2 separate regions of the Homo sapiens genome follow, and region 2 is linked to region 1. The links are contacts of gene promoters, found by promoter capture Hi-C in human tissues and cell types (Jung and others, 2019). All regions are on one chromosome and are shown on one strand. The core of a region is centred on a gene start or on the middle of the fragment in contact, and the rest is flanking DNA. Distances in the headings are between cores, read along the strand shown.

Evidence for each region. Contacts are between HindIII fragments. The study calls those that stand out against the background at their distance.
Region 2: a contact is called between a fragment that was not itself captured here and the fragment with the promoter of NUMA1 in region 1, in 1 of the 25 tissues and cell types used here (heart left ventricle).

Annotation. Positions count from the first base shown.
Region 1 is chr11:72,079,224-72,084,223 of GRCh38, reverse strand. NUMA1 (nuclear mitotic apparatus protein 1) reads left to right here and starts at 3,682. Exons shown (of 27, transcript NM_006185.4): 1 at 3,682-3,766. It overlaps LRTOMT (leucine rich transmembrane and O-methyltransferase domain containing), which reads right to left and starts at 3,374. Exons shown (of 9, transcript NM_001145310.4): 1 at 3,339-3,374. It overlaps LRRC51 (leucine rich repeat containing 51), which reads right to left and starts at 3,374. Exons shown (of 6, transcript NM_145309.6): 1 at 3,339-3,374. RefSeq lists enhancers at 2,361-3,315, 3,327-3,596, 3,316-4,271. The HindIII fragment of the contact is 11,805 bases long and covers 1-5,000 here.
Region 2 is chr11:73,111,399-73,116,403 of GRCh38, reverse strand. All of the region lies in intron 2 of FCHSD2 (FCH and double SH3 domains 2), which reads left to right. Among named protein-coding and RNA genes, the nearest start is that of FCHSD2, 28 kb to the left of the region's middle. The HindIII fragment of the contact is 4,633 bases long and covers 981-5,005 here.

The DNA.
Region 1 (5,000 bases), core at 2,433-4,932:
TGATGATGGACTGATGGTGGAAAAAAAATCAAAGGCTGCTATGAAAAATCTGCCACATATTTAGCCAGGCATGGCAGCTCACGCCTATAGTCCCAGCTACTTGGGAAGCTGAGGTAGGAGTATGGCTCAAGCCCAGGAGTTCGAGGCTGCAGTGAGCTATGACTGTGCCACTGCACTCCAGTCTGGGCAACAGAGCGAGACCCTGTCAAAAGAAAAAGAAGAAAAATCTGCCACATAATCTAATATATTCTGGGAGGTTATATTCCCAGGTGCCAAAAGGAGGACCAAGATTCAACCTGGCTCCTGTCCACCCCCCTCTACTACCATCTCATCCTCAACTCCAATTCTGCAGTCTAGCCAAATGCAACCACTCACCATAAGTTCCCTGCACCTGCCACTGGGCCTCTAAGTGGAACAGTGTCTCCTTCCAGCTCTGTCTGCTTGGAATATAGTTTTTCTCTCCTCCTTTTGCTTTGCTAATTCTTATTTCAGGGCTCAGATCAGGTTTCAACTTTTCTGAGAAGTCTACCTTTATCCTCAAATCTGTAATTGTAGTGCTATGATTGCCATGGTAGCACTCGTAACACTGTAATTATCTGCTTACTATCTGTATGTCCATAAACACCAGCAGGGCAGAAACCATATTTTTTCTTACAGTTGTATCTCATAGTGCCGGCAAGTAGTAGGTGCTTAACAAACACATTAAAAATTGCAACTAAATAATACTACAAAGGAGAGGGCCATGAGGTTGCTGTAATTGAGGGATCTGACCTGGTCTGAACAGTCTACAGGAAGACATTCCTGAAGAAGTGACTGAGAGAAATCTAAAGGATAAGTACAAATTAACTTATGGGGTAGGGGGTGGTGTGGAATGAGCATTCCAGGCAGATGTGACTGCTATATGCAAAGGTTCTATGGTGGAAGGGTACTTGGAAATTTTGAAGACCTTAAAGGTTATATAACTGAAGGGGAGAGAAGGATGAATATGTATGGTTAGACTGGAGGCTGGAGAGATGGGAGCAATAGGAAACCACATAGTATTAATATTAAATGGGGGCTGGCTGGGCGTGGCGGCTCACGCCTGTAATCTCAGCACTTTGGGAGGCCAAGGTGGGCAGATCACCTGAGGTCGGGAGTTCGAGACCAGCCTGACCAACATGGAGAAACCCCGTCTCTACTAAAAATATAAAATTAGCCGGGTGTGGTGGCGCATGCCTGTAATCCCAGTTACCTGGGAGGCTGAGACAGGAGAATTGCTTGAAACCGGGAGGTGGAGGTTGCTGTGAGCCGAGATTGCGCCATTGCACTCCAGCCTGGGCAGCAAGAGCGAAACTCTGTCTCAAAAAGAAAAAAAAAAAATTGGGGGTGGGGTAGAGAGTGAACAGTATCAGCTTTGCATTTTGAAGGATCACTCTGGTTGCAGTGCGCAAATATGGCTGGGAGGGAAGGCAGGAAGGATGTGATGGTAGCTAGGACCTATATAAAAGATATTCAGGAAGTAAAGCTGATAAGACTTAGTGATAGATGGGAAATGGAAGAGGTATTAAGTAAATGGAAGAGGTACTAACTTGGGTTTTGGGCTTGGGTATATTGTGGATAAAGGTAGGAGCACTGGAAGAGATCCAGGCTTGGAGGAAAAGGTTGGGATACACAGAGATTGTTTCAATTTCAGAAATGTAGAGTTTGGGTTGCCTTTGAGGTATCCTAAAGGAGATGTTGAGGCAATTGGCTATATAGATCTGGAGCTTAGAGATGAGGGCTGGGCTTGAGATACACACTTGTGTACATTTGCATACAGGTGGAAAATGAAGTTGTGGGTGTGGAGGGGTACCCAAGAAGAGAATATAGAGTGCAGTGGCAAGAGGGCGTAGGACCAAACCTGGGAGAACTTTAAGGTAGTAAGTGGACCAGTCAGGGCCAGCTAGTCACCAGCTAGAAACCAGCTAATCATGGTCACTTCAGACATGGGTGCTGTGTTAGCCCTTCTGTTTCCTGTTTAGTTAAAAATGTTCAAGTCTCATTGTCTTAGTCTCTCTAGTTCCTTTTCCCCATTAAAAGTTTCAGGGGAGGATCTGAAATTCATTCCAGCTGAAGTGTAAATAATACAAAGTAGGCCACACAGGTTCCTTTTCCCTGGGGCAGTTTAACTTGTTCCTTGGAACAAGTCCTTCCGCTATAGAGGCAGTAGGCTGAAGCTAAAGAGACTTAGCTGGAAGTCGGAGAACTGGAGTCTAGTTCTAGCTCTGTCACTAATTTGGTGTGTGGCCTTGGGCAAGTCCCTTTTCTCTGGGTTTCAGTTTTCCAATCTGTGAAATGAAGATAAATATCCTTGACTCACAGAGCTGTTAAGAGTATCAAAAGAGAGACTGTGAAAGCACTGGGTAGGTTACTAAATGTAATAGATCTGTCGTGAGTACTAAAAAAAATGAAGCTCTAACTGTAGAGCTTTGAGTAGCGGACCACGGAGAAGGTGTGGGGAGAAAAGGGAATCTGGGGACAGATTGAGAAGGGGTTTTACTCCTTGGAAGAAGAAGGAATGAGGCACTTCACGCCCCAGGAAGTTTCCTACATCTCTAGAATTAGGGTAGCGACTGCGATTTACTCAATCTAATGCTAACCGCATGTCTTGGAAGAGGGTCTCAGTTCCTCAGAGGAAAACCAACCCCATTTCTGAGGGCGTTTCTGATCTCCCAGGTTATGCCTGGAACTTGAAGCATCCGATTTTGGGAGCTTTATGTTTGCGTTGGGGGCGGGGTTCGTTGTTTTGTTTTGTTTTTGTTTTGTTTCGTTTTGTTTTGTTTTGAGATGGAGGTATCGCTCTATAGCCCAGGCTGGAGTGTAGTTGCGTGATCACGGCTCACTGCAGCTTCAATCTCCGGGCTCAAGCGATCCTTCTACCTCAGCCTCCCTAGTAGCTGGGGCCACTGGAGCGCGCCACCAAGCCCGGCTAATTTTTTTATGTTTTTGGTAGAGACAGGGTTCGCCATGTTTCTCAGGCTGGTCTCGAACTCCTGGCCTTAAGTGGTCCGCCCGCCTTGGTCTCCCAGTGTTGGGATTACAGGCGTGAGCCACCGCTCCCGGCCCTGGGGGTGGTTCTTAAGCATCCCCAAATCTGTATGGATATATATCTCAACGCCTATCCCTCCCTCTGCTCCCCCTCGCCCAGTCTGTCCCATGTGAGTGTTGTATCTTGTTCGCTGTGAAAGGTGATGAGGGTCGGTGGGGGAAATCTCAGATCCCCGAGCAGGAAGGTTCTTAGTCGTTCTGTGAGTGCCCCTCCCTTCTCCATAGATCTCTTGTCCCCTAGAACGGGTTTCCTGTTTTCCCGCCCGACTCACCCGCAGTCGCTTCCTCTCCAGTCTTGGCGTCCCACTGCCTCAGGGTTACTCAGAGCAACTCCATGGCAACTGCTTTCGTCACCACAACCCGGCAGGCGCCATAAGTACTGACGCGATGCTTACCGGGACCTTCAGTTTGTCAGGGGCGGGGCTTCAAGGCCGCGGGTGACGCTGGGATTTGTAGTTCTCTTTGCCTTCAAGTACAGGCCGGGGTCCGGAAGCGGTGATACCCCTTCTCTTTCCCAGTGGCCCTCAAACTTCCTTTTCCCGGGTCCTTAAGCGGGCCCCGCCGACAGAGGCCAATCAGAGGGCAGCGCGAGGGGGCGGGGCCATAGTTTAAACTAATTGTGCGCTCACAGCGCTGGCGCGAGCCCACGAAGAGGTACGATTCCGGAGAATCGCGAGGCAGAGCGGGAGCGCGCAGCCAGGTAACCGGCGCGGGCCCGCGTTTGGCGTGCGGCCTGGGCACCCCTGCGGGTGCTCAGGCCTAAAAGGGGTGCTGGAGAGGCCGCTGCGAGCGGAAGGCCTCCTCCATAACCGAGTCCGAAAGGGCAGAATCTATGGGGGTAAGGTTTGTGAGGAGAGGCGCCTGAGAGGGAGGAGCCGGGGGGGGGGGGGGTGCCTTAAAGGGGAGGGTCTGTTTGGGGGCGTGTCTGTGGAATTAAATCTGAAGGTGACTGGGGTCGGGGGTATAGGGCAAGTTCCCGAAAGGCTTGTAAGCGAGGGGTCGGGTCCTGGAAAGTCTTTGCCTTTTATCGTTAACAATAGCAGTAGTTATGGTAGTGCAGTAGTCAGCATTTTCTGAGCTACACCGTCCACAATGACCTGCCAAATGTTTATCTTTTTAATCTTCTAACCACCTGTTATACTTTAAAGATGGGGAGCCTGAGGTTTATAATGTTTAGCTTGGCCCGGGTTACGTAGCCAGTGCGAGGTTGGCTCTACTTTGGGTTTATGGGTTGGGCATAAATGGGGACGGGGAAGGTGCTTTGTGGGGGCGCGCGTTGTCTTGGACTGGTCAGTGTATTTTGAGCCTCACTTTTCATATATGTAAACAATGACCTTACCTGCCTTACCTACTTCCTGGGGTGGTTGTCCTGGTCAAAACAGGTTAAGTCTTTTTTTTTTTTTTTTTTAATTTTTGTTTGTTTTTGTTTTTCATCCATGGACTCTCACAGATAACATGTTTCATACACGCACCTCGGAGAGTACAAATTTATGACTATAAGTGGTGTGACTGTGTGAAGATTGTGGGTGGGCGGGAGCCCACTGGGTTGATGCTGCCGCCTCTGGGTACTCTCTTTTGCTTACCTCTGAGTTAGCACTTGTCATTTTTTTTTTTTTTTGAGACGGAGTCTCGCCCTATCGCCCAGGCCGGAGTGCAGTGGCGCGATCTCGGCTCACTGCAACCTCTGCCACCCGGGTTCAAACAGTTCCCTGCCTCAGCCTCCCGAGTAGCTGGGATTACAGGCGCCCGCTACCACACCCGGCTAACTTTTGTATTTTTAGTAGACACAGGGTTTCACCATCTTGGCCAGGCCGGTCTTGAACTCTTGACCTCGTGATCCGCCCGCCTCGGCTTCCCAAAGTGCTTGGGATTACAGGCGTGAGCCATCACGCCCGGCCTGCCATCTGGTATTTTAAAAGTCTGCGTGTTTGTCT
Region 2 (5,005 bases), core at 2,048-4,547, 1.0 Mb before region 1:
TATTAATCTTGTATAACTGTGATGCCACAATCTAACAGGACAGTACAAGCAATCAAATTATATGCCAGTCTGCCTTAGGAGCATAAGTAAAAATATCGTCAACAAAAATTTACTAAATAGAATCTAGTGGTATATAAGAAAATTAAGTAATAATGAAATTGGGTTTTTATAAAAACTTCAAGGACAATTTAATATTAGAAAATCTAACATTAACAGATTGAAGGAGTAGAACCATAAGATCATCTCAGTAAAGATTCAGTATCCAATCAGAATAAAAACTCTTATTAGCAAACTAGAAATAGAAAGGAAAGTCTTCAATCTGAAAAGAAGGATATTTATTTAAAAATCTGCAGTCATCATATTTAGTGGTGATGTTTTAAGAGTCTTCTCATTAAACTCGTGGATAACACAGTTGTGCCCCTGTGATGGTTACTTTTATGTATCAACTTGCTTATGCTGTAGTACCCAGCTATTTAATCAAATGTTAATCTACATGTTGCCATGAAGGCATTTTGTGGATGTTGGTAACATCTACAGTCAGTTGACTTTAAGTAAAGGAGGCTACCCTCAATAATGTGGATATGTCTCACAATTAGTTGAAAGGCCTTAGGAACAAAACTGAGGTATCTGGAAGAAGAAGAAATTTTGCCTCAAGACTGCAGCATCAACTCCTATCTCAGTTTGGCAGCCTGATGGCCTGCCCTACAGATTTTGGACTTGTCAGCTCCTACAATTGCATGAACCAATTTCTTAAAATAAATATCTTTATGTCTGTCTGTGTCTAGCTATCTGCCTTCTCTCTCGTGTTTTCTCTCTTCCCTATTCACTCTGTTTCTCTGAAGAACCTTGATGCATGCACCCTCCAGTGCCAGAAGACATGAAAACGACACGAAAGTATAGAGTTGGAAAAGATATATAAGATTGTTTTCATTTAAAAACAGTGAGATAGGGCGGGCGCAGTGGCTCACAGCACTTTGGGAGGCCAAACGTCAGGAGAACGAGACTATCCTAGCTAACACAGTGAAACCCCATCTCTGCTAAAAATACAAAAGAGGCACTGAAGAAGGTAGGAAAGAGAGTCTTGAATTGCCAACGCCACCCCTCTTCCATACCCTGGCACTGGCTGCATGGTGTGGAGATTCTGCATGTCAGGGAGGGAGAGTGCTGTGATTGAGACCCTCCATTGAACTCAGTGCTGTTCTGTCGAAGGGGAAAGCAAAACTGGGCTAAACTTAGCCAATGACCACTCATGGAGGGAGCATTTAGGCCAGCCATAGTCAGAGGGGAATCTCCCAGCCCAGTTGTTGGAACTTGAATTTCAGCACGCCTTGCCACTGCAGGCTAAATTGCTGTAGGCCCTACATAAACTTGAAAGGCAGTCTAAGACACTAGGACTCCAATTCTTAGGCAAGTCTTTGTGCTGAGCTGGGCTCAGAGCCAGTGAACATGGTGGGGCACATGACCTAGTGAGACACCAGCCATGGCGTCCGAGGGAGTACTTGTGCCACCCCTCCCTCAGTTTTGGGCGCACAGCTTGTAGCTTCAAAAAAGACCCCCTCCTTCCGCTTGAGAAGAGGAGAGGTAAGAGTAAAGAGGACTTTTATCTTACATCTTGGATACCAGCTCAACCACTGGAGGATAGGGCACTGGGCGGAGTCATCAGGCCCTAGCTTCTGGATGACATATGTAGACACACCCTGGGCCAGAAGGGAAACTCCTGCCTTGAAGAGAAGGATCCAGTCCTGGTGGCATTCTTTACCTGCTGACTAAAGTGCCCTTGGGCCCTGAGGAACCAGCAGCAATACCTAGTTAGTACGCTGTGGGTCTTGGGTGAGCTTCTGTGATGTGCTGGCTTCAGGTGAGACCCAGCATATTTCCAGCTATGGTGGCTACAGTGAGAAACTCCTGCTTGAGAAAAGGGGAGGGAAAAGTGAAGGAGATTTAGTTTTGCACCTCAGGTATCAGCTTGGCCACAGTTGGGTAGAGCACCAAGCAGGCTCTTGGGGCCTCTGATTCCAGGATTTGGCCCTTGGACAGCGTTTCTGGACCTGCCCTGGGCCAGATGGGAGCCTACTGCGCTGAAGGGTTAGTCCCAGGTCTGGAAGAATTCACCACAAGATGACTGAAGAGCACTTGAGCCTGAAGTGAACATTGGCAGTAGCCTTGCAGTACCCTCTGTGGTTCTGGGGTGGTGATGACCTTGGGGAGAAGCTCTTCTGCTTGTGGAAAGAGAAGGGAAGAATAGGAAGGACTTTTGTCTTATAGTTTGAGTGCCAGCTTAGCTGCAGTAGAATAGAGCATCAAGTAGATTTCAAAGGTTTTTGACTCCAGTACCTGGCTACTGGCATCTCTGGACCTGCCTGGGGTATGGGGGAAATTGCCACCCTAAAGGGAAGGACAGAGGCCCAGCTTGCTTTATCACCTGCTGATTGTAGAGCCCTAGGCCCTTGAGCAAAGAGACCAAGTGTTGTGAGAAAGTAAGGAAAGAGAACAAGAATCTCTGCCTAGTAATATAGAGAATTCTTCTGGATCTTAACCAAGACCACTAAGGCAGTACCACTACAAGTTTTCAAGAAACATAGCATTACTGGGCTTGGGGTGCCCCCTAATGCAGATGTGGCTTAGATTACAACACCCAAGTTTCTTCAGATACCTGACAAACTTTCCCAAGAAGGATGGGTACAAATGGGTGTTTCTTCAAATGCCTGGAAAACTTTCCCAAGAAGGACGGGTACAAACAAGCCCAGACTATGACGACTACAATAAATACCAAACTCTTCAATGCCTGGACACCGACAAATATCCACAAGCATCAAGGCCAAGTCTTGGCAACATGGCGAAACCCCGTTTCTACTAAAAATAGAGAAACTAGCTGGGCGTGGTGGCACATGCTTGTAGTCCCAGCTACTCAGGAGGCTGAGGTGGGAGGATCACTTAAGCCCAGGATGCAGAGGTTGCAGTGAGCCAAGATCACATCACTGCACTCCAATCTAGGTGACAGAGTGAGACCTTGTCTCAGAAAAAAAAAAAAAAAAAAAAAAAAAAAAAAAGACCATCTTGGGAAGCATGATGATCAACCAAACTAAGGTACCAGGGAACAGTCCTGGAGAAACAGAGCTATGTGACCTTTCAGACAGATAATTCGAAATAGCTATTTTGAGGAAACTCTAAGAAATTCGAGATAACACAGAGAAGGACTTCAGAATTCTATCAGATAAGCTTAGCAAAGAGATTGAAATACTTACAAAAAATCAAGCAGAAATTCTGGAGTTGAATAATGCATCATAATTTCTTAACAGCAGAATTTATCAAGCAGAATAAAGAATTAGTGAGCTTGAAGATAAACTCTTTGGAAATGCACAGAGAAGACAGAAGAAAAAAGAATAAAAATGAAGCACGCCTACCAGATCTAGAAAGTAGCTGCAAAAGGGCATATCTGGCCGAGGGCAGTGGCTCATGCCTGTAATCCCAGCATTTTGGGAGGCCGAGGTGGGTGGATTATTTGAGGTCAGGAGTTCAAGACGAGCTTGGCTAACATGGTGAAACCCCATCTCTACTAAAAATACTAAATAAGTAAATAAATAAATGTTAGCCAGGCATGATAGTGTATGCCTGTAACCCCAGCTACTCAGGAGGCTGAGGCAGGAGAATTGCTTGAACTTGGGAGGCAGAGGTTGTAGTGAGCTGAGATCATGCCACTGCACTCCAGCCTGGGCGACAGAGCGAGACACCGTCTCAACAACACCAACACCACCACCAACAACAAAAAGGCAAATCTAAGAGTTATTGACCTTAAAGAGGAGGCAGGGAGAGAGATCAGAGTAGAAAGTTTATTCACGGGGATAACAACAGAGAACTTCCCAAACCTAGGGAAAGCTATCAGTATTCAAGTATAAGAAGCATATAGAACACCAAGCAGATTCAGCCCAAAGAAGACTACCTTAAGGCATTTAATAATGAAACTCCCAAATGTCAAGGATAAAGAACAGATCCTAAAAGCAGCAAGAGAAAAGAAACAAAAACACATAATGGAGCTCCAATATGTCCAGCAGCAGACTTTTCTGTGGAAACCTTACAGACCAGGAAAGAGTGACATGACATGTTTAAAGTGCCAAAGGGGAAATCTTTTACCCTAGAGTGGTATGTCTGGTGAAAATATCCTTCAAACATTAAGGAAAAATAAAGGCTTTTCCAGACAAACAAAAGCTGGGGAATTTCATCAACACCAGACCTGTCCTATAAGAAATGCTAAAGGGAGTTCTTTAATCAGAAAGAAAAGGACATTAATGGGCAATAAGAAATTATCTAAAGGTACAAAACTCACTGGTAATAGTAAGTACACAGAAAAACAATTTTATAACACTGTAATTGTGATGTATAAGTTATTCTTAAGTAGAAAGACTAAAAGATGAACAAATTAAAAATATTAACTACAACAGCTTTTAAAGACATATCCAGTATAATATGATATAAATAGTAACAACCAAAAGTTAAAAATAGGGGGACAAAGTTAAAAGTGTAGGTTTTTATTAGTTTTCTTTTTGCTTGTTTGTTTATGCAATCAGTGTTGTCATCAGTTTAAAATAATTGGGTTTTATGGTAGTATTTGCAAGCCTTGTGGTAACCTCAAATCAAAAATCATATAACAGATACACAAAAAATAAAAAGCAAGAAATTAAAACACCCCACCAGAGAAAATCACCTTCACTAAAAGGAAGACAGGAAGGAAGGAAAGAAGGAAGAGATGACCACACACCCAAAAATAAAATAACAGGAGTAAGTCTTTATCAGTAACAACATTGAATGTAAATGGATTAAACTCTTCAATCAAAAGACATAGAGTGGCTGACTGGATTGAAAAAAACAAGATCCAGTGACCTGTTGCCTACAGGAAACACACTTCACCTATAAAGACACACATAGACTGAAAAAAAAAAAAAGGATGGAGAAAGATATTCCATGCTAATGGAAGCCAAAAAAGAACAGGAGTAGCTATGCATATATC